Linked DNA regions of Homo sapiens: regions 1, 3, 4, 5, 6 and 7 are each linked to region 2. Evidence: promoter capture Hi-C in 16 types of primary human blood cells and fetal thymus (Javierre and others, 2016). All regions are on one chromosome and are shown on one strand. Each heading gives the region's core, a stretch centred on a gene start or on the middle of the fragment in contact. The rest is flanking DNA. Distances are from core to core; before and after follow the strand shown.

What was found. Contacts are between HindIII fragments. The CHiCAGO score rates a contact against its expected background, and 5 or more counts as called.
Region 1: a contact is called between a fragment that was not itself captured here and the fragment with the promoter of SYNM in region 2, in 4 of 17 cell types (naive CD4 T cells, fetal thymus, naive CD8 T cells and 1 more). The highest score is 6.7, in naive CD4 T cells.
Region 3: a contact is called between a fragment that was not itself captured here and the fragment with the promoter of SYNM in region 2, in 1 of 17 cell types (endothelial precursors). The highest score is 5.7, in endothelial precursors.
Region 4: a fragment that was not itself captured here is called in contact with the fragment with the promoter of SYNM in region 2 in 4 of 17 cell types (megakaryocytes, M0 macrophages, erythroblasts and 1 more); the score reaches 6.0 in megakaryocytes.
Region 5: a fragment that was not itself captured here is called in contact with the fragment with the promoter of SYNM in region 2 in 2 of 17 cell types (naive CD8 T cells and total CD8 T cells); the score reaches 5.3 in naive CD8 T cells.
Region 6: a contact is called between a fragment that was not itself captured here and the fragment with the promoter of SYNM in region 2, in 1 of 17 cell types (M2 macrophages). The highest score is 5.5, in M2 macrophages.
Region 7: a contact is called between a fragment that was not itself captured here and the fragment with the promoter of SYNM in region 2, in 1 of 17 cell types (neutrophils). The highest score is 6.1, in neutrophils.

Annotation. Positions count from the first base shown.
Region 1 is chr15:98,494,878-98,497,811 of GRCh38, forward strand. It overlaps the pseudogene FAM169BP. Among named protein-coding and RNA genes, the nearest start is that of LINC02351, 75 kb to the left of the region's middle. The HindIII fragment of the contact is 190 bases long and covers 1,577-1,766 here.
Region 2 is chr15:99,103,096-99,106,329 of GRCh38, forward strand. It overlaps SYNM (synemin), which reads left to right and starts at 1,985. Exons shown (of 4, transcript NM_145728.3): 1 at 1,985-2,914. The coding sequence starts at 2,105. It overlaps SYNM-AS1 (SYNM antisense RNA 1), which reads right to left and starts at 2,782. Exons shown (of 3, transcript NR_187219.1): 1 at 2,593-2,782. RefSeq lists silencers at 1,735-2,644, 2,925-3,094. The HindIII fragment of the contact is 5,074 bases long and covers 330-3,234 here.
Region 3 is chr15:99,729,508-99,732,677 of GRCh38, forward strand. It overlaps LYSMD4 (LysM domain containing 4), which reads right to left. Exons shown (of 3, transcript NM_001284417.2): 2 at 2,211-2,500; 3 at 1-224. The coding sequence starts at 2,492. Among named protein-coding and RNA genes, the nearest start is that of LYSMD4, 2.3 kb to the right of the region's middle. The HindIII fragment of the contact is 3,276 bases long and covers 1-2,888 here.
Region 4 is chr15:98,453,105-98,455,998 of GRCh38, forward strand. It overlaps the pseudogene FAM169BP. Among named protein-coding and RNA genes, the nearest start is that of LINC02351, 34 kb to the left of the region's middle. The HindIII fragment of the contact is 2,102 bases long and covers 367-2,468 here.
Region 5 is chr15:99,700,063-99,703,199 of GRCh38, forward strand. The region is part of intron 8 of MEF2A (myocyte enhancer factor 2A); the gene reads left to right. Among named protein-coding and RNA genes, the nearest start is that of LYSMD4, 32 kb to the right of the region's middle. The HindIII fragment of the contact is 764 bases long and covers 1,504-2,267 here.
Region 6 is chr15:98,434,784-98,438,070 of GRCh38, forward strand. It overlaps the pseudogene FAM169BP. Among named protein-coding and RNA genes, the nearest start is that of LINC02351, 15 kb to the left of the region's middle. The HindIII fragment of the contact is 5,322 bases long and covers 1-3,287 here.
Region 7 is chr15:99,765,528-99,768,510 of GRCh38, forward strand. No RefSeq gene overlaps it. Among named protein-coding and RNA genes, the nearest start is that of LYSMD4, 34 kb to the left of the region's middle. The HindIII fragment of the contact is 1,268 bases long and covers 986-2,253 here.

The sequences.
Region 1 (2,934 bases), core at 422-2,921, 610 kb before region 2:
CTAAATAGTATTCCATTGCATATACATTGTCTTTATCCATTCATCTGCTGATAGACACTTAAGTTGATTCCATATCTTGGCCATTGTGAATGCTACAGTAAATATGGGAGTGCAGATATTTCTTCAACATACTGATTTTATTTCCTTTGGATATATACTCAGAAGTGGGATTGCTGGACCATATAGTAGTTCTATTTTTAGATTTTTGAGGAGCCCCCATACTGTTCTCCATAATGGCTGTACTACTTTACATTCTCATCAACAGCATACAAACATTCCCCTTTCTCCACAACCTCATAGCATATGTTATTTTTTGTCTTTTTCATAATAGCTGTTCTAACTGGGGTGAGGTGATAGCTTACTGTGGCTTTGATTTGCATTTCACTGATGATTTGTCGTGTTGAGCATTTTTTCATATATCTATTGGCCATTTGTATGTCTTCTTTTAAGAGATTTGTATTCAGCTCATTTGCCCATTTTTTAATCGGATTATTTGTTTTTTTTTTTTTTTTTTTTTTTTTGCTGTTGAATTATTTGAGCCCCTTGTATATTCTGGATGCTAATCTCTTGTCGGATGAATAGTTTCCAAATATTTTATTTGATTCTGCAAGTTGTCTCTTCATTCTGTTGTTTATTTTTCTGTGCAGAAGATTTTTAGTTCAGTATAATCTCACTTGCCTTATTTTGATTTTGTTTCCTGTGCTTTTGAGATCTTCTCCATAAAATATCTGCTCAGAGCAATGTCCTGAAGCATTTCCTCTGTGCTGTCTTCTACTATTAATAGTTTCATAGTTCCAGGTCTTACATTTAAGTCTTTAATCTATTTTGAGTTGAATTTTGTATATGGTGACAAATAGGGGGACTAGTTTCATTCTTCTGCTTATAAATATCCAGTTGTCTGAGCACCATTTACTAAAGAGACTGTCCTTTCCCCCAATGAATGTTCTTGGTACATTTTTCAAAAATCAACTGTCTGTAAGTATATCGGTTTATTTCTGGGTTCTCTATTCTGTTGCATTGGTCTACATGTCTGCTTTTATGACAGTACCATGTTGTTTGGGTTACTACACCTTTGTAGAATATATTGAAGTCCAGTAGTTTGATGCCTCCAGCTTTGTTCTTTTTGCTCAGTATTGCTTTGGCTATTCGAAGTCATTAGTAGTTCCAAATCAATTTTAGAATTTTTTTCTATTTCTGTGAAGAATGCCATTGGTATTTTGATAAAGAGTACACTGAATCTATAGATTGCTTTTGGTAGTATGGTCATTTTCACAATATTAATTTATCCAACCCATGCACATGGAATGTCTATTTTTTGTGTATCCTCTTCAATTTTTTCATCAGTATTTTATGTTTTCCCTTGTGGAGCTCTTTGACCTCCTTGGTTAAATTTATTCCTAGTTTCTGTGTGTCTCTGTATGTGTGTGTGTGTCTACTGTAAATGGATTTCCTTTCTCGATTTCTTTTTCCACAAGTTTGTCATGGATGTATTGAAATACTACTGATTTTTATGTTGATTTTTGTATCCTGCAACTTCACTGAATTGGTTTATCAGTTCTAAAAGCTTTTTTGGTGAAGCTTTCATGGTTTTCTATATATAAGATCATGCCATCTGCAAACAGGGACAATTTGACTTCCTCCTTTCCAACTTAGATGACCCTTCTTTCTCTCTTTTGAATAGTTGCTATAGCTAGGTCTTCTAGTACCATGTTAAATAAAAGTGTTAAAAGAAGGCATCTTTATCTTACTCCAGATCTTAGAGGTAAAGCTTTCAAATTTTCCACATTTGGTATGATGTTGGTTAGGGGTGTGTCATATATGGGCTTTATTGTGTTGAGGTAGGTTCCTATTATACCTAACTTGTGAGCTTTATCATGAGACAATGTTGAATTTTGTCCAATACTTTTTCTGTGTCTTTTGAGGTGCTAATATGGTTTTTATCCTTGATTCCACTGATGTATCACATTTATTGATTTGCATATGTTGAACCATCTTTGCATCCGGGAGATGAATCCTACTCGATCATGGTGAACAACAATTTAATGCATTGTTGAATTGGTTTGCTAGTATTTTGTTGAGAACATGTACAATTATGTTCATCAAGGATATTGGCCTATAGTTTCCCTTTTTTGTTGTTGTTGTTGTGTCTTTGACTAGTTATGATATCAGGGTAATTCTGATCTCATAGAATGAGTTTGGAAAAATTTCCTCCTCTTTAATTTTCTGAAAGAGTTTGAGAAGAATTTGTATTAGTTATTCCTGAAATGTTTGGTAGAATTCAACAGTGAAGCCATCAGATCCTGGGCTCTTCTTTGATGAGAGACTTTTTATTACTGATTCAATCTCATTACTCACCTATCAACAATAACCTTGATAGGTCTCTTTAAGTTTTCTCTTTCTTATTTGGTTCAATCTTGGTAGGTTCTATGTGTCCAGAAATATACATATATTGCTGCTAGCTTTTCAAATTTGTTGTAAAGTTGTTTGTAATATTCTCTAATGATCCCGTGTATTTCTGTGGTATCAGTTGTAATTGTCCCTTTTCATTTCTGATTTTATTTATTTGGATATTTTTTTCTTGGTTTTTTTTTTTTTTTTTTTTTTTTTTTTTTATGAGACGGAGTCTTGCTCTGTCGCCCAGGCTGGAGTGCAGTGGCGCGATCTCGGCTCACTGCAAGCTCCGCCTCCCGGGTTCACGCCATTCTCCTGCCTCAGGCTCCCGAGTAACTGGGACCACAGGCGCCCGCCACCGCGCCCGGCTAATTTTTTTGTATTTTTAGTAGAGATGGGGTTTCACCGTGTTATCCAGGATGGTCTCGATCTCCTAACCTCGTGATCCGCCCGTCTCGGCCTCCCAAAGTGCTGGGATTACAGGCGTGAGCCACCGCATCCGGCCTTTTTATCTTATCTGTTAAAAAAAAAACTAACTTTTAT
Region 2 (3,234 bases), core at 735-3,234:
ATGACACCACAGCAGCTCTGGTGTTTGACAAGCAAAGGCCAGGTGTCAGTGTGCACCTGGGGGAATGGGAGGATGGACAATGATGGGGTGATGGGGGTCCAAATCCCCCTGTCCCACACCAAGGTGAATGAACCCAAGCACTGAATAAACCCACTTTCCACCCCCACTTAGTTTTAGCAGAAAAGGACAGGGAATTATTCATTGAAAGATATTAATTTCTACCACCTACAGAATGGGATCTCCAACATAGGGTCTCTAGAAAAAGGAAGGGCCACTTTCTGCCTTGCTTGTGATTGGAGGCTCATGGCTGTGACAAGGAGAGCACTAGAAGCTTTGTCAGAGGCCCTGGACCAGCTTGCTGAGTAGTCCACCTTTCCATGCCATCTGTAAAATACACTAACTGCTGGCCCTGCCATGAGGAGCCCTCTGGCCAGTGGATGACCGTCCAGGTCTCGCCCTGGGCACTTGTGTTGCCACAAGTTCAAGGGCACCCCAACCAAGGGTCAGCTGGTTTGTCCCTGTGAGCCTTAATGACACTTATACTGAGAACTGTCATTCATAAATAACTGCCATGAAAACTAATGAAATGCAAGTGTACAAAAAAGAGCTGTGGTTTCCATGGCAATTAAACTGAATACTTTCTTAGGGAAATGCTGGAAAGAAACAGCTGTCACATTAGGGGTGTGTGTGTGAGATTTGTAAAAGTTCGGGGAGATGTTAGATGTCTAGAAAGTTCTGTACTTGGAGCACTTTATGGTCTCTAAGTTTTCACTCCAAATGAAAGAAATTCGTTTTGGAAAATGTAATGTACTATGAGGGTAGCTTGTATAAGAAGGGCAACTGGGACTCCTGTCAACTGACATCAAGAGAAGTATTTTGCACATTAAAATACTGGTAAATGGATATATATTTATGTTTTAAGTTAAAAAGATTATTTAGGCTGGGCACGGTAGCTCACGCCAGTAATCCCAGGACTTTGGGAGGCCGAGGTGGGCGGATCACCTGAGGTCGTGAGTTCGAGACCAGCCTGACCAACATGGAGAAACCCCGTCTCTACCAAAAATACAAAAAAAAAAAAAAAAAAAAAAAAAAAAAATTAGCCAGGCGTGGTGGCGCTGGCCTGTAATCCCGGTTACTCGGGAGGCTGAGGCAGGAGAATCGCTTGAACCCGGGAGGCGGAGGCTGTGGTGAGCCGAGATCGTGCCATTGCACTCCAGCCTGGGCAACAAGAGCGACACTCTGTCTCAAAAAAAAAAAAAAAAAAATTAATGCACATGTATGTGTAATGTATATATATGAGATGAGGCCTCTCTCTGTTGCCCAGGCTGGAGCGCAGTGCCACAATCAGGTTCACTGCAGCCCTGAACTCCTGGGTTCGAGTAATCCTCCCGCCTCAGCCTCCCAAGCAGCGCGTGTGACACCACCACGCCAGGCTCCATATATATATATATATATATATATTTTTTTTTTTTTTTTTTTTTTGGTAGAGACAGGGTCTCTCTATGTTGCTCAGGCTGGTCTCGAACTCCTGGGCTCAAGCGAGCCTCCCACCTCGGCTTCCCAAAATGCTGGGATTATAGGCCTGAGCCACCGCGCCCGGCCCATATCGTTTTTTTAAAAATAGAAAAGCCACCAATCTCCAGGGCCTCGGGTAAGAAGTCGCTCCAAAATCGCCAGCACCACAGCAACTCAATAGGCTTCTATTTCCATCCACCAAGGCCAGGACACTCGTATGCTCCCGGACGCCCTCTCCGGCGTCCCTTCGCTGAGCCCGGCCTGGCTAGCCCGCCACCCCGCCCGCTGTTACCCGACTGCCCGCACCGACCACCTGCGGCCGCCAAGGTGCGGCAGGGGGCGCTGTGCGGCCGCAGAGGCCGCGCCGGGCCGCGCTCTGATTGGCTGGAGGCCGCGGCCCTCGCCCAGGCCGCCCGCCCAGTCTGCCCGCCCCGTCCGCTAAGTGCCTGGGCTCTCCCGCTCGCGTCCCAGTCTGCGGGCCTCCGGGGCAGCGGCGAGGCCGGAGCGTCGCGGCGGAGAGGACGAGACCGGGACAAGACCAGGGCAGGAGGGAGCCGGCCAGCCGCGAGAACCCCGCACGCCCGGCAAGATGCTGTCCTGGCGGCTGCAGACGGGCCCCGAGAAGGCCGAGCTCCAGGAGCTCAACGCCCGGCTCTATGACTACGTGTGTCGGGTGCGGGAGCTGGAGCGCGAAAACCTACTCCTGGAGGAGGAGCTGCGCGGCCGGCGCGGGCGAGAGGGCCTGTGGGCCGAGGGGCAGGCCCGCTGCGCCGAGGAGGCGCGCAGCTTGCGGCAGCAGCTGGACGAGCTGAGCTGGGCCACTGCGCTGGCGGAGGGCGAGCGGGACGCTCTGCGGCGCGAGCTGCGGGAGCTGCAGCGCCTGGATGCGGAGGAGCGCGCCGCCCGCGGCCGCCTGGACGCCGAGCTGGGTGCGCAGCAGCGCGAGCTGCAGGAGGCGCTGGGCGCGCGCGCCGCCCTCGAGGCGCTGCTGGGCCGGCTGCAGGCCGAGCGCCGAGGCCTCGACGCGGCCCACGAACGCGACGTGAGGGAGCTGCGCGCGCGCGCCGCCAGCCTTACCATGCATTTCCGCGCCCGCGCCACCGGCCCCGCCGCGCCGCCGCCACGCCTGCGGGAGGTGCACGACAGCTACGCACTGCTGGTGGCCGAGTCGTGGCGGGAGACGGTGCAGCTGTACGAGGACGAGGTGCGCGAGCTGGAGGAGGCGCTGCGGCGCGGCCAGGAGAGCAGACTCCAGGCGGAGGAAGAGACGCGGCTGTGCGCGCAGGAGGCAGAGGCGCTGCGGCGCGAGGCGCTCGGGTTGGAGCAGCTGCGCGCGCGGCTGGAGGACGCGCTGCTGCGGATGCGCGAGGAGTACGGGATACAGGCCGAGGAGCGGCAGGTCCGTGCGCGGGGATGGCGCGCTGACCCCATACCCGCTGCCGTCGCCCCAGCACCCTGCCCTTGACGGCGTGGGGCAGCGGCCCCTTCACCAGGGGCGCGGCGTCGCGGACCGGTAGGGCCCGCCCAGAGGGTGCCCGAATGGCATGGGGACCCGGACTCGGTCCGCTGGTCCATCGACTCAGCGGGCGAGCGCGGGGCGGCAGGTCCTAGCGGATAGCCCCGTCCTCGTCATGGGGTTAGGTGGCAGCTGCTTTAACTCTTGACAAGCGTGACTGGGCGCATCCTGATAGGCCACCCTGTTAGCTCTAGGTTTTCCTT
Region 3 (3,170 bases), core at 1-2,500, 630 kb after region 2:
AAGCCCATCAGTTGGCCGGCCTGGGCACCGGTGCCCGCGCCTGCTCTGTCTGCCTCTGGCAGTTCCACGGTCACTGTGGTCTCGGAAGACGGGCTCAGAAGGGGTTTCAGTTCTTTGTGGGTCTCCATCAGGATCCCATGGTTTCTCACTGGAATCTTAACAGATTTCAAAGCATATAAGTCTTGTTCTCTGATGAAGTTGTTGACTTTCTTGATATCTGCAACCTAGGAAGGCACGAAGATAAACATCATAAAATATGCGGAGCTCCTTAAAAATAACTTTCCAAAAAGTGGCTCTTAATCTTTCTGGGTGATGATTCAAGCCCACTTCACTGACGAATCTGATGAAGACTGGAAAACTGCAGCTGTACACAAAGTTAGTTTAGGCTGAAATTTTGTTTTTTTGGCTTTCACTCAACCTCAATATATAGTTTAGTAATCAGATATTCCTAAAGATTTACAGGTTTGAACAATTTAAGATCAGTTTTGAAAAACAGATCTTTCTTAAACTGTTTAAAGTGTGACTGCAACAAATCGCTTTGGGCGAAACCACCATGGCACTGAAAGGAATGTTGCAGCCTTTTCCACCTTTCACTTTTGAGGCAATAGTGCCCCCATCTGCCTGCCTTCCCCCTCATGCCAGAACTCAGTGGCTGCCAGATGTTAGCATTCACCAAACACACAGCCTCAGCCAGCTCTGCAGACACACTCAAAATCCAGTTTACCTGTAATAAAGTTGACAGATATGCCCTCGGCATTTTCTTTCCCAGAAACACTGTGGGGCATGTAAACTTATTAAATAAAAGTGACTTACAGTTACTGTACTTAACTGTCAGGAAAAAGGAATAATGCTGTGAGTTTTATCAAGTAACAAAGTTCATGACAAACTCCTCTCATAATCAAACACGAAGATTTAAGAAGCAGGGAGAATGTAAGTCAAAGGGTAACCCCTCCCTCAAACTAATGTTTGAAAACTTTCCAAAAGCATCAGAGATGAACTCCAAACTTTTAACACTTAAGTCCACTTAAACTAGAAAGTGAATACAGCCAACAGATCTCAATCAAATCAATCATTTCCATTATTATTCAGCAACTGCTGTTATTGTAACTGATTTGGGGTAGGGGACATTTTTAATTCACTATGTCCTGAATCTAATGCATGAGACCCTTGAGATCTTTCTGTCTCTGCCTTCAATAAATTAAGAGCAAATTTATTTACTTCAAATAGGAAAACTGATCACTTATCAAAGGCTTTATATATTCTTTACGGATTTAGACATCACCATACCAAGAAGCCTACTCCATCTATTCCGGTCTTTGTAGGACAGGCTTCATTTTTCAGCCCATGTTCTGTAAGCCACACAGTATGCCTGCAGAAGCTGCTTATCGGAGCCAAATATAATTGTCAGTACAATTTAAAGACCACTATGTGTCCCCGGAGACCAACCTGTTTATTTCCCTGAAAGACCGCAACACCCCACACAACATGTTTCAGACATTTGGACCTTGTTAGATAAGACACTTGTAGGAGAAAGAGATTTCTTAAATTAAGTAGCTTATATACCCCTAGAGAAGGCCATACAAATCTGTAGCACAGTGTTAGCAAAGTGAAACAGTTGCAATCTAGGAGAAAATGCAGCAATTCTAGAAATACTTTCCTACTTACTTTGCCATTGTTAATCACTCTGAATGCTGAAAACATAATTAGAGAAAAACAGGGTTATATAGATACACAGCATACAAAAGACCATGCAGTTCTAAACGAGAGAAGGTAAAACTTTACCAAAAGTCAAGTAAGCTACCACCAAGAAAGGTTCAGAAAAATAAGAGCAGCGAGAAAAGCAAGCATACCATAGAAATCCGGAATTAAATTCTGCCTGGTATCTCCAGCCCCATTAGGTCTAAAATAAAATGTGCTCGAAAGAAGAAAAAAGGTTTCAGAATTTCAGTGTGGAGAAAACAGGAAAAGGAGAAGTTCCCTGCAGAGAAAGAAATGCGCTAACCCTCCCTCTTTGGGGGCCAGGGTTGGGAACTAAAGGTACTCCCACCTGCATTCCAATTCTGGCTAAATAGGGGAGTCCTTGGCTGCTACAGCAGGCCTCTCCTGACGGCCTGGCAGGGTTAAGAAGGGCGGCAAGGGCACCCACCCTGCAGTGAGTTCCCCGTGTTCCTTGAAACGGAGCGGGGCAGGGCCCCTGAGGGGTGTCTTACTTTGCAGCCATACTGCAGCGCCAGCTTGTTGAGGCTGTCCTCCTGGGCCAGCTCCCGCTGCAGCAGCACCACGTCACCTGCTCCCGCCTGGGGAGGCTGGTGGACACCGCTCTTGTGGCGCTCCTTGCCCCGGGGCCGCAAAACCACACGGTGAGACTCTTCTTCAGAAGAGTCCCCCGAGTCCCCACTGCCATTCTTAAACATGTATACGTGGCTGGTCGGAGTCCCACACACAACAGCTGGGCCTTGGAAGGTCTTGGTTAACAATTCCTCGTGCCTCATTTTCTTCACTGAAAATCAAGCCGGAGGGTTAATTCCACAGAAGACATAATCATCCCTCCACCGCCTCGTTTAAAGAGAAGTGTCTTGTTAGAGAGTATTCCTTTTCCTAATCGCTGCAAATACTCAGCATACATCATCAACAGAAAAAAAAGAATGTGCTTATGCTGGCTGAGATGGAAGAAGATAGGCAGAATAAAAACCCTTTGTTTTTTCTAATCGCATACGTTTTGTGCAGAAAACGAACCCCGCCCCTGTTCCTCATCCATAGCTGTCTCCCCTAAACCCACATCTGTAAAGAAACAACTACTTTTGCTCTCAGAGTAGTAAGTTGAGATCCTTGCAATGGCAAGTAAGGGCTGCCGCCAGCCTCCGCGCACTCAGAATCTTCAACTCAGAAGCTTTGCACAATAATTTTGTATTCAATATTTTACACATTGCAAAGTATCTTCACTAAGAAGGTCAGCGCTAAGGACTCTTGCTCAGAACTGTGGGGCTAAACTGCTCTTACTTTGACACAGTTTAACTCACAGTATGTGGGGCAAGCTACGGGGAGAACTCATGCCTGTCAGCCGGAGAAAAGCGTCCAGTTTGCTCACGGGTCACTTTGCATTCATTACATCCCCATTGTCTGGTTTTTATTTTCCCCTTGAGTCAACAGCCAAAGCCGCAAGACCCCTG
Region 4 (2,894 bases), core at 168-2,667, 650 kb before region 2:
CCTCCTGGGGTCCAGTGTACCTGTGTTCTCTCTCAGATCCCTGCAACACACCACAAAAGCAAGCCCAGGGTGACCTGCTACCATGAAAGGAATATGGCCCACGCACTGCTGCGGTCCCAGGGAATGTCTCGCCAGCCCCAAGCAGCAGAGCCACCTGACAGGCAGGTTACCATGGATAAACAGCAAGCCCAGCTAGACTAGAAAATCACCCAGCTGAGCTCAGCCTAAAATGCCAAGCAAAAGAATTGTTAGCTAAATAAGCAGTTACTATTTCATACCAAAAATGAATTTAAAAATAAATAATCTACAGCCAATAAGGAAGTTCATTTCTCTTGAGACAGTAACTATAAAATATTTGGGATTTCAAGCTTGATGCGCTTGAGATGACAGTACCAACTTGCTTGCAATTATATTATTTCAATATATAGAAGATGAGAGCAATGTTCTTGTAATTGTGAAGTCTTCCAAAACTAAAAGGCTTTAATATTAAATAAAGATGCAATTTAATTTACAATAGCATTAAAAAGAAGTAAATAATTAAGAGTATGTTTAACAAAAGAATCTTGAACACCAAAAACTACAAGACATTGTTGAGAGAAATTAAAGAAGAGCTAAATAAATGAAGAGAAATTCCATGTGCATGGATTGGATGACTCAATTCTTACAATAATTCTTCCCAAAATGATCTGTAAACTCAATGCTGGCTCTATCAAAATCCTCTTTGTAATTCTACAACTAAGCATATGAAAGGATGCTCCACATCATATGCTATTAGGAAATCACAAATTTAAACAATGAGATGCCACTACACACCTATTAGAATAGCCAAATTATTTTTTTTTTGAGACAGAGTTTCGCTCTTATTGCCCAGGCTGGAATGCAATGGCGCGATCTCAGCTCACTGCAACCTCCGCCTCCTGGGTTCAAGCGATTCTCCTGCCTCAGCCTCCCAAGTAGCTGGGATTACAGGCATGTGCCACCATGCCCAACTAATTTTTGTATTTTTAGTAAAGACAGGGTTTCGCCATGTTGGTCAGGCTGGTCTCGAACTCCTGACCTCAGGTGATCCGCCTGCCTCGGCCTCCCAAAGTGCTGGGATTACAGGTGTGAGCCACCACACCTGGCCTAGAATAGCCAAATTCTTTAACACAGACAACAACAAATGCTGGTGAGGATGTGGAACAACAGGAACTGTCATTCATTGCTTGTCAGAATACAAAATGGTGCAGCCACTTTGGAAGGCATTTTGGCAGTTTCTTACAGAACTAAACATACTCTTACCTTGTGATTCAGCAGTCACACTCCTTGATATTTACTCAACGGAGTTGAAAACGATGTTCACACAAAAATCTGCACACAAATATTTATTCATAATTACTAGAACTTAGAAGCAATCAGGATGTACTTCGGACGGTGAGTGGATAAACTGTGGCTTATCCAGTCAATGTAACATTATTCTGCACTAAAAAGAAATGAGTTATTACTATAAAAAGATATAGAAAAACCATAAGGGCATATTACTAAGTGAAAGAAGCTAACTGAACAATGACATTCCATTGGATTCCAACTACAGTAATGTGCTTCATAAAGACGTTTCAGTCAACAATGGACCACATGTGCAATGGAGATCCCATAAGATTAAAATACAGCTGAAAAATTCCTGTCGCCTAGTGATAGTCATAGGCATCATAAAGTCGTAATGCAACACGCTATTCATGTGTTTGTGGTGATGCTGGGGTAAACACACCTACCACACTGCCAGTCATATAAAAGTCTAGCACATACAGGCGGGCATGGTGGCTCATGCCTGTAATCCCAGCACTTTGGGAAGCCGAGGTGGGAGGATCACTTGAGGTCAGGAGTTTGAGACCAGCCTGGCTAACATAGTGAAACCCCATCTCTACCAAAAATATAAAAAAAATTAGCCAGGTGTGGTGGCATGCACCTGTAATCCCAGCTACTCAGGAGGCTGAGGCAGGAGAATTGCTTGAACCCAGGGGGCAGAGATTGCAGTGAGCCGAGATTGCACCACTGCACTCCAGCCTGGGCAAGAGAACAAGCCTCTGCCAAAAAAAAAAAAAAAGTCTAGCACATACAATTATGCACAGTACCTAATACCCAATAATGATAATAAATGACTGATACTGGTTTATGTATTTACTATACTATATTTGTATTGTCATTTTAGAGCGTACACCTTCTACTCATTATAAAAACAAAATTAACTGTAAAGCAGCCTCAGGCAGGTCCTCTAGGAGGTATTCCAGAAGAAGGCAGTTATCCTAGGAAATGATAGCTCCACGCATGTTACTGCCCCTGGAGACCTTCCAGTGGGACAAGATGTGGAAGTGGAAGACAGTGATATTGACAATCCTCACCCTGAGTAGGCCTAGGCTAAGGAGTGTGTTTGTCTCTTTGCTTTCAGCAAGAAATATTTTTAAACTTAAAAAAAAATTTTTTTTAATTAAAGCTTATAGAATAAGAAAATATTTATGTGCAGCTGCATAATGTATTTATGTTTTAGCCAAGTGTTATTACAAAAGAGTCAAAAAGTTAAAAAAATCAAAAAGTTTTTGTAAAGTAAAAAGGTTACAGTAAGCTACAGTTCATTTATTATTGAAGGAAAAAGTAGACATTTAGTGTAACCTACGTGTACAGTGTTTCTAAAGTGCACAGTAGTGCACAGTACTGTCCTAGGCCTTCACATTCACTCACCACTCACTCACTCCCTGAATCACCCAGAGAAACTTCCAGTCCTGCAGCTCCACTCACGGTAAGTACTCTACACGAGCATACTGTTTTTAAATCTCTTTACTGTACCTTTTCTATATTTACATATGTTTAGATACAGAAATACCATTATGTTACAATTGCCTCCAGTAATGAGTACAGTA
Region 5 (3,137 bases), core at 636-3,135, 600 kb after region 2:
TTGGCCAGGCTGGTCTCAAACTCCTGAGCTCAACATCTGCCCGCCTCAGCCTCCCGAAGTGCTGGGATTACAGGCATGAGCCACTGTGCCCAGCCAGACACATACGTATATATGTGTGTATATATACACACACACACACACACACACACACATATGTACGTATGTGTCTGGCTGGGCACAGTGGCTCGTGCCTGTAATCCCAGCACTTCGGGAGGCTGAGGCGGGCAGATGTTGAGCTCAGGAGTTTGAGACCAGCCTGGCCAACATGGCGAAACCCCGTCTCTACTAAAAATACAAAAATTAGTCGAGTGTGGTAGGATGCCCCCATAGTCCCAGCTACTTGGGAGGCTGAGGTGAGAGGATCGCTTGAGCCCAGGAAGTCGAGGCTGCAGTGGCCTATGATTGTACCACTGCACTCCAGCCTGGCTGACACAGCGAGACCCTGTCACACACACACAAAAAAGGTACAGTTGTGTGTACATATGAATTAGTATACATCATATATTTCCTAGCTCTGTTTGCTGAGAGGTCTGTGAGGCAATAGCATCCAGTAACTGAACATACCTGGTGCTCAGATTTTAGTTTCAGAACACCATTTTCTAATACAAGGACTCAGGGCTGCTTGGAAAAAAATGGTTTGTTGTAGAGCTGGGGCAGGGAAACGGGATGAGCCGGGGTTGTCAGAGGTTAAGAAAGTGCGTATCAAAAGTCACGGGAGCTGGCCTTTCAAAAGAGTTTCCAGTGGCCAAAACTAGAACAATTTGAGTAACAAAATAACAATAGTATTGGATTATAGCCCAGGGAATAAAAAACATTGAGTCCATTACTGATATAAATAAATGATAGAATAAATAAGGGGAAAAAGGGACAACTCTTCCTTAGAAAATAACTAATTAATAAATGTAGAAAGAATGAGAGAGAGTAAATCAGCATTAGAACACCACAGTACAATGGTAATTGTTGCAGGCAAAGTCAGTGGATAAATGCTAACATAAGTGGGCAAAAAGTTTAAGTAAAAAGCTATTTTGCTTTGTCTCAGAATGTCTCTTCCCCAATATTCATTTCTTACAAAGGGAAAAATTAGAGAATTAGAAATAAGAGAATCCTGGAAAACACTGCCTTAACCGGAGGATCAAGGTTAACATCACCAGTAATGGGACATAAAGACAACATGTGCCTTCCAATATGACATGCTAAGAAAGCCATGTCTCTTTGTGGTATTCTTGCAAAAATCCATGCCCTTCTATCTGATTATGAATGAAAATCAGACCCAAATTGAGAGACATTCTATAAGATAACTGATCAGCACTCTTTCAAAACAAGTTGTCAAGGTCATGCAAAACAAGTTGTCAAGGTCATGAAAAGGAAAGACTGAGGAACTGTCACAGAGCAGAGGAGACGAAGGAGATGTGAGAACTAAAGGCTTGTGGGATCCAGGATCTGATCCTGGGTCAGGAAAAAGGACATCAGTTGAAAGACTGGTGAAATCCAAGTAAAGTCCAAAGCTTTAATTGGTGCTGTATTATTTTTATTAGTTTCGACAACTGCATTGTATTTCCTTGTGATGTTAACAATGTGGAAAGCTGAGTGAGATGTGAGGGAGCTCTCTTTGTAAATGCTGTCTAAAATTATTTCAGAATAAATAGTTTAAAATATATACATACATACATAACAAAGAAATACACCCCAAAAGGGAGCCAAGAAAAAATGGCATTTAGGATGGTCCCATAGCTCACCTTTCAGGTACTGGATATGCAATACTTGCTACTGTCTTTCAGAAATAAACTCTACAAAATGTCATGTAGGGTACAGAAATGTTTACAAGAATTGTTAGTAAACTGCCAATTTAGAGACAAACTCCATTTAAGCATTTTAGCAATTGCTTAATAAAGTTATGTCTGATTGTTAGGAGAGCATGAAGGATCTCCATGGAAAACTCAAAATGTGTCGTATGAACTATTTACACGCTTATTCCTGTATATTAAAGTGAAAACCATATGTTTTACACATACACAGCTATAATGTTAGACAGTATATTTTGGTGTGTACCTTGTGTTTGGAGATATGTAAAGATATCTATAACAAAACAGTTGAATAGCATCTTGCCCACATTGGAGATAGCAGTTGTAGATCAAGTGATTGTTTTTCAGAGTAAGTAATCGGTCCCACCTACTTTACACACACCATTTACAGAGAAACCTTCTTCCAGATTAGGGCTTCATGTATCAGTGGCACTTACAATGACACTTTTCACAGACTGACAGAGAAGCTTAACTTACTCAAGTAAAACAAGTAAAAACTGATTAGACTGTTTCTAGCATGTTAATATTTTCTAAATGTTATGGAGAAAAGGAGCAAAAATGTTTCTTTTTTTTTTTTTTTTTGGACGGAGTCTCACTCTGTCACCCAGGCTGGAGTGCAGTGGCGTGATCTCAGCTCACTGTAACCTCTGCCGCCCGGGTTCAAGCAATTCTCCTGCCTCAGTCTCCTGAGTAGCTGGGATTATAGGCACCTGCCACCGCACCTGGCTAATTTTTGTAGTTTTAGTAGAGACAAGGTTTCACCATCTTGGCCAGGCTGGTCTTGAACTCCTGACGTGAGCCACCGTGCCCAGCCTTATTTCTTTTCTTTACATGACTTATGAATTCATTTCTCCTTCAGTCTCATTTTCTTCAAATATGTGGTTTTTCTCCATTGAAGTCATTTTATTCACATGAAAATATATTTGCAAATGATAAACATATATAAAACTGGTATTTAAAACTCATGTATTTATTAACAAATGTTTGTGTTCCTGTTGTTTTATAACTGCTAGCTCCTGCGGGAAATAAAACATACAGCAGTTTCTTTCTGCCAAGAAGCAGAATTCAGTAGGAGATAGATAACATGTATCACCAGGTGGGGTAATAGTAGGGTGATTAAGATACAGAGTTACAAGTACAGAGTTGATATTCTCACAGTTCCAAATACAGATCGATAGCATGATGAGGAACCCCTTTTAAATACTGTTGCAGTAGCATGACTATGTATAAGAGGCCAGCATGAGAGCAGACCAAGTTGGGGTAGGAGGGTGTCTTTGAATACTGGCCCTAGAGAATTTAAAATAATTTTTCTAGTCTTTTGAAAACTCAACAAGT
Region 6 (3,287 bases), core at 675-3,174, 670 kb before region 2:
GAGACCAGGCTGGCCAACATGACAAAACCATCTCTACGAAAATACAAAAATTAGCTGGGCATGGAGGTGCACGCCTGTAGTCCCAGCTACTGGGGAGGCTGTAGTGGGGGGGATGGCTTGAGCCCGGGAGGCAGAAGTTGAAGTGAGCCGAGATCACCCCACTGCACTCCAGCCTGGGCGATAGAGCAAGACCCTGACTCAAAAACAAACCAAACCAAAACAAAACAAAACAAAATTAAAACTGTACTTCAAATGACATCAATAAAATGAAACGAGAAACCAAAGAATGGGGAAAAAAACTGCAAATCGTATATCCAAAAAGGGATTAAAATCAGAATTTATAAAGAATTCTTACAAATCAACAAGATAAAAACAACGCAATTCAAAAATAAGTGAGGATTTGAATAGACATTTCTCCAAAGAAGATAACACAAATGACTGAAAAGCTGTTTGACATCAGTAGTCACCAGGGCAATGCAAATCAGCACCACGGTAAGATGCCACTTCCCACCCACTAGGATGGTGGCTGTATCAAAAAGACGGAATAGGCCCCGGGCGCGGTGGCTCACGCCTGTAATCCCAGTACTTTGGGAGACCGAGGTGGGTAGATCACGAGGTCAGGAGTTCGAGACCAGCCTGGCTAACATAGTGAAACCCCATCTTTACTAAAAATACAAAAAATTAGCCAGGCATGGTGTCAGGCGCCTGTAATCCCAGCTACTTGGGAGGCTGAGGCAGGAGAATCGCTTGAACCTGGGAGGCGGAGGTTGCCGTGAGCTGAGATCACGCCATTGCACTCCAGCCTAGGGGACAAGAGCGAGACTTTGTTTCAAAAAAAAAAAAAGATGGAATAAGTGTTGGCTGGGATGAGGGAAGCGGAAACCCTCATACCTGGCTGATAAGAATGTAAAATGGTGCAGGGACTTGGAAAAATAATTTGGCAGTTCCCCAAAATGTTAAACATAGAGTTACCATATGACCCAGAAATTCCACTCTCAGATGTGTACCCAAGAGAACTGAAAACATATGTACACACACAAACTTGTATTTTGTTTTTTTTTTTTTTTTTGAGACGGCGTGTTGCTCTGTCGCCCAGGCTGGAGTGCAGTGGCACGATCTCGGCTCACTGCAAGCTCCACCTCCCGGGTTCATGCCATTCTCCTGCCTCAGCCTCCCGAGTAGCTGGGACTGCAGGTGCCCGCCAGCACGCCCGGCTAATTTTTTTGTATTTTTAGTAGAGACGGGGTTTCACCGTGTTAGCCGGGATGGTCTCGATCTCCTGACCTCGTGATCCACCCGCCTTGGCCTCCCAAAGTGCTGGGATTACAGGCGTGAGCCACCGCGCCCGGCCATAAACTTGTATTTGTGTATGTGTATATTCATGGCAGCATCATTGATAACTACCAAAACCTCAAATCAATCCAAATTACATCACCTAGCGAATGCCAAAATACAGTGTTCTACATCCATACCACGGGACGTTATTTGGCAATAAGAAGGAGTAAGAACTGATGACACGCACCACAACACGGATGAACCTTGGAAAAATTATGCTACGTGAAAGATGCCAGCTGTGAAAGACCCCGTATTGTGTGATTCCACTTACATGACATACCCGGAAGAGGCAAATTTATATATAGATTAGTGGCTGCCGAGGGCAGGAGGAGGGGGTAAGTGGGGAGTGAGAGACTCATGGGCGCAGTATTTCATTTTGGGGCACTAATGGTGGTGATGAGGGCACAGCTCTGTAAATATACTAAAAATCATTGCATTATTACTTTTTTTTTTTTTGAGACAAGGTCTCACTCTATCACCCAGGCTGTAGTGCAATGGCACGATCTCCACTCGATGCAGCCTCAACCTCCCGGGCTCAAGCAATCCTCCCACCTCAGCCTCCCAAGTAGCTGGGACTATAGGCGCAGGCCACCACACCCGGCTGATTTTTGTATTTTTGTAGAGTCAGAGTTTCACCACGTTGGCCAGGCTGGTCTTGAACTCCTGAGCTCAAGTTATCCACATGCCTCTTCCTCCCAAATTGCTGGGATTACAGGTGTAAGCCACCTCGCCGGGCCTGAATTATTACTTTAAATGAGGGAACTTTAAGGTTTGTAAATAATATCTCAATACAGCTGTTAAAAAATAAGAGACAGGAACACAGAAAACCGAAAAATAAAATTGATTTAATAAAAACAACACAACACACACAAAGATGTGCATTATGGGCAGTCCTGCACACACTGCTGGAAGGGACCCCTGCACACGGCCTCACAGCTGGCATGGACTGGGCAGGAGGTTGCTCTCAGTTCCACGGCATTGCCTTCTAACTTGTGTGGTCAGTACATATGCCCTTAAACAAAGCCATCAATACATCAGCTGTTCTTCCCTGAGAGGTTTCTTTTATTGAATAGTAACTTCATCAAACCCCTGAGACATTTTTAAACATTTATTTTCATGTAAACACAAAATACTAACCATTCATCTCAAATAGCACAATGCTCACAGCACACACATCCCATGTGAAAGGTTACATCTGACACCACACACAGGGCACCCTCTAGGCTGTAGACTTCACTCTCCTTTTATGGTCTGTGCCACCTGCACAGAGAGCCCAAGTATAAGGGGCAGGGGGGAGGCAGGCTTCATGATGTCTCCATATGAATCTCTAAACTATATTTCTAGTCAATTGGACCCTTCCATCTTTGTAATGGGTGCAAGAGAGATGAAAACTCCAGTGGAACACTCCAGAAGAGATTCCTCCAAAGAGAAGAGAGTTTCCTGAGGCCAGTATCCATACCTCACTTATATCCCCTGTCCCCAGCACAGAGCATGTCCCTGAGAAAGCATGCTGAATATCTGTTGTACAACAGAATGGATGGATGGATGGATGGACGGATGGATGACGGATGGAGGATGGATGGATGGATGGAGGATGGGTGGATGGATGGATGGATGGATGATGGATGGATAGAGGATGAATGGATGGATGGAGGATGGACGGATGGATGATGGATGGATGGATGATAAATGTATGGATAGATGGATGGCTGGATGAAGGATGGATGGATGGATGGATGGATGGAAGATGGAGGATGGATGGATGGATGATGGATGGGTGGATGGATGGATGGATGGGTGGATGGATGGATAGATGGATGGATGGAGGATGGATGGATGGAAGATGGATGGAGGATGGATGGATGGATGGATGGATGGATGATGGATGGAGGATGGATGGATGGATGATGGATGGAGGATGGACGGATGATGGATGGATAGATGGATGAATG
Region 7 (2,983 bases), core at 370-2,869, 660 kb after region 2:
GGATGATGACGAAGCCCACCCCAGACTGTTTTCTTCGGAGTTAAATTTCTAGATCCACAAGCGATATGTTGCATAAATGAATGAAAGTGCTTAGGATGTAGCAAGACTGTAATAACAATACTTTAATTAACTGAAATTAAACGGTGATGTCAGAGAAAAACTTATGTCAGATCACCACAATCAATTAAACACAGTGATAAATGTAACATTCTTCTAATAAAATAACTTAATCCTATTTGCCACTTCAGATTGAATAATCAGTTTTTCACTCACTAAAATGGAACCCAGAATACATCTTCTATCTTACTTTGTCGTTTGATAAAATGTTAGTTTTTCTATATTTGTTAACACAGACCAGTATATGTTATTAAAACACTGGCCGTAAACAGTGTAGGTAGTCTAGCATATATTCATAATTTCTTTGTACAAGCTAAGAAAGAACACATTGATCAAGTCCTTTTCAACATAAATTGTATTTCATGCAAGTTAAAATTAAACAGAAAACTGCATTTAAATAAATGTGAAAGATTCAAATAGAAAATGGCCTTTGGAACTCTTCTTATATTTAGTCATCTATTATGTTTCTTTTAAAAACTATTAGATAAAAAGCTTAGATAGAACAATTAACATAAAATGCTTTTTGGGGAGAGGGGCTCTTTTTTAAACCCTGTTTAGTATCATGATATCCTATTTTATTTTACGTGAGACATTTGCATGGACATATTAATTCCAAAAAGCTAAGTGATCTTATAGACTTTATAGATGAAATACAGCAAGAAACAGAAAGCAAATAATTGCATGACTGTTACTGGCTATATTCCGGGTCTTTAAGAATTTAAGACCGCTATAGATAAATGATATTGCTTGGTACCTGCCCGTCACCAGATTGGAGTGGAGGAATTTAGTATTTAGAAATCTTTTATTTTCTTCTTGCTATTATACAGTGTTATTGAGTTGGTAATCAGTGAACCATCTTGGGCTTTGAAGCTTCCCTTGTGTTATGCTACCCTGCTAGGGTACATAATATGATGGTTTACCGTTCAGCAAAATCTTTTGTTTTCACTCAAAAAAAGCAGTCCCCAGATATATTTAAACTCATAGTATAAATGCCATGGTTTTAATGTACGGTGCCATTTTGTAGGCATAAAAGACAAACAAGGTGTGTTACTGTTTTTGATAACTTTACTCACTTTTATAAAACCTAAGAATAGTTATCTGAAAATATGTCATTCCCTTGGACTGGAATCTAGCCCCCAGACCTGTGACGAAATAAGGATGATTTCAGCACACTGAAGAAACAACGAAGTGAAAGGAAGAGGAGCCCACATAGGGTCCTCTTCATTGTGTTTTAGAAGGTCAAATTCTCTGGTTATTAACAGACAGAGTATTTCAGAGTTTGAAGAGACATTAAGAAACCAGGAATCTACCTCCTCCCTTTTACAGAAAATGATACAAAAGATAATTCTTTGCCATCTCAGTGCCCACGAACGGCTTCCACTTCACCATTCAACCTTGTAGGTGGTAGAGCTGGAGGGCCTGTGTGAGGTGAACAGGCACGAAAAGGACTGAGAGTGGAGAGAATATGGTGGAAGGAGAACACAAACTTCCTGGCAAGAGCCGACTTATTGAGGGAATGACACAAGAAGGAAGTGGTGTACCTGGGTGAAAAATGCACAGGGTAAGGGTGACATTCATAAGAGATTTTCCGAGGCTTGTGGAATTGCTGAGAGCTGGAGAGCTGGTGAGGAGGTGAGAACCAATCTTGATAACTCTTGCTGTGTTATACGTCTGGACCTTATTTTAAATGTTCTTTGAAGGCACAGTGAAGAATTATAGTTATTTCTGAATTCCTATTGGAGGCTAAAACTGCCTTCTTAAACTGGGCAACACATCAGCTACTGTATAAAGTGGGTCTCTAAAATGATAGTTTATAGTCATATAAAGAAACAGATATCAGGAAAGAGAAGATATTTATCTAATGAGTTGATCTCTTCAGTCACAACAGTCAGTTTGGATAATGTTATTCACCAGTGCATTCTTCTTTCCTTTCTAATCATCCCCAAGTTTATCTCCTCTGAGGCTCACGCTCAGCAGCACAGATTGATTTACTGAACTATATAAAAGTAGCTGCTCTCCTACCACAAAAACTCCAAACCTTCTTTCTTTTAAACTTTCTTTCATAATAAAATAATGTAAGGCAACCTTTCTAATGTGAAGACAACTTTACTAAGTCAGTTGTAGAGACAGAAGAGAAGCTTGGCTGGTAATAGTGATAACACTGCACAGTTACACATTTTACAGAAATCTAGGAGTTTATTTATGAGCATGTGTGGAAATGAATAAATGACATTTGTATAGTGCTTACTATATGCCAGGTATTTTTTTAACTGTATCATACAGTTAACCATTCGATATTTACAGTATGTTCAGGAGACAGGTTCTGTTGGGATCATTTCATTTTACGTAGAAGAAACTAAGGCATCGAGCGTTTAAGTGACTTGTTCAAGTTCACTTCTTTGGCAAATGGCGGAGAGGGGATGTTGAGCCAGAGACCACCTGCTCAACCACTGCCTACATTGCTTTTATTGACTTAAAATTACAAAATGTTTAATTAAAATACCTGTTAGGTATTCTTCATATTTACATTATCTTGGCAAGTAATATAATGATCATAGCTAAATAAATGCTGCATAACTTACTGAAATGAGAAAATTGCTTTGAGTATGTTGAAAAATACAGTAGATCGTGCATATTATGTTACACTATTACTTCACTAACGAAGGACTTCACTATGGCTAGTCCCATGGATAACCAGCCAAGGTCATGTCTCGAAAGCAATGCTCTTTCCACAAATGTGGTCTGAATCACAAAGCTTTACCTGCATAAATTATATTGTATTTTATTTTGAATGTACTTCAGAAATTTGGAATTGTACTTTGGTACCGTAGACATTGCCTACTCTCGTATCCTTTATGACATGGCT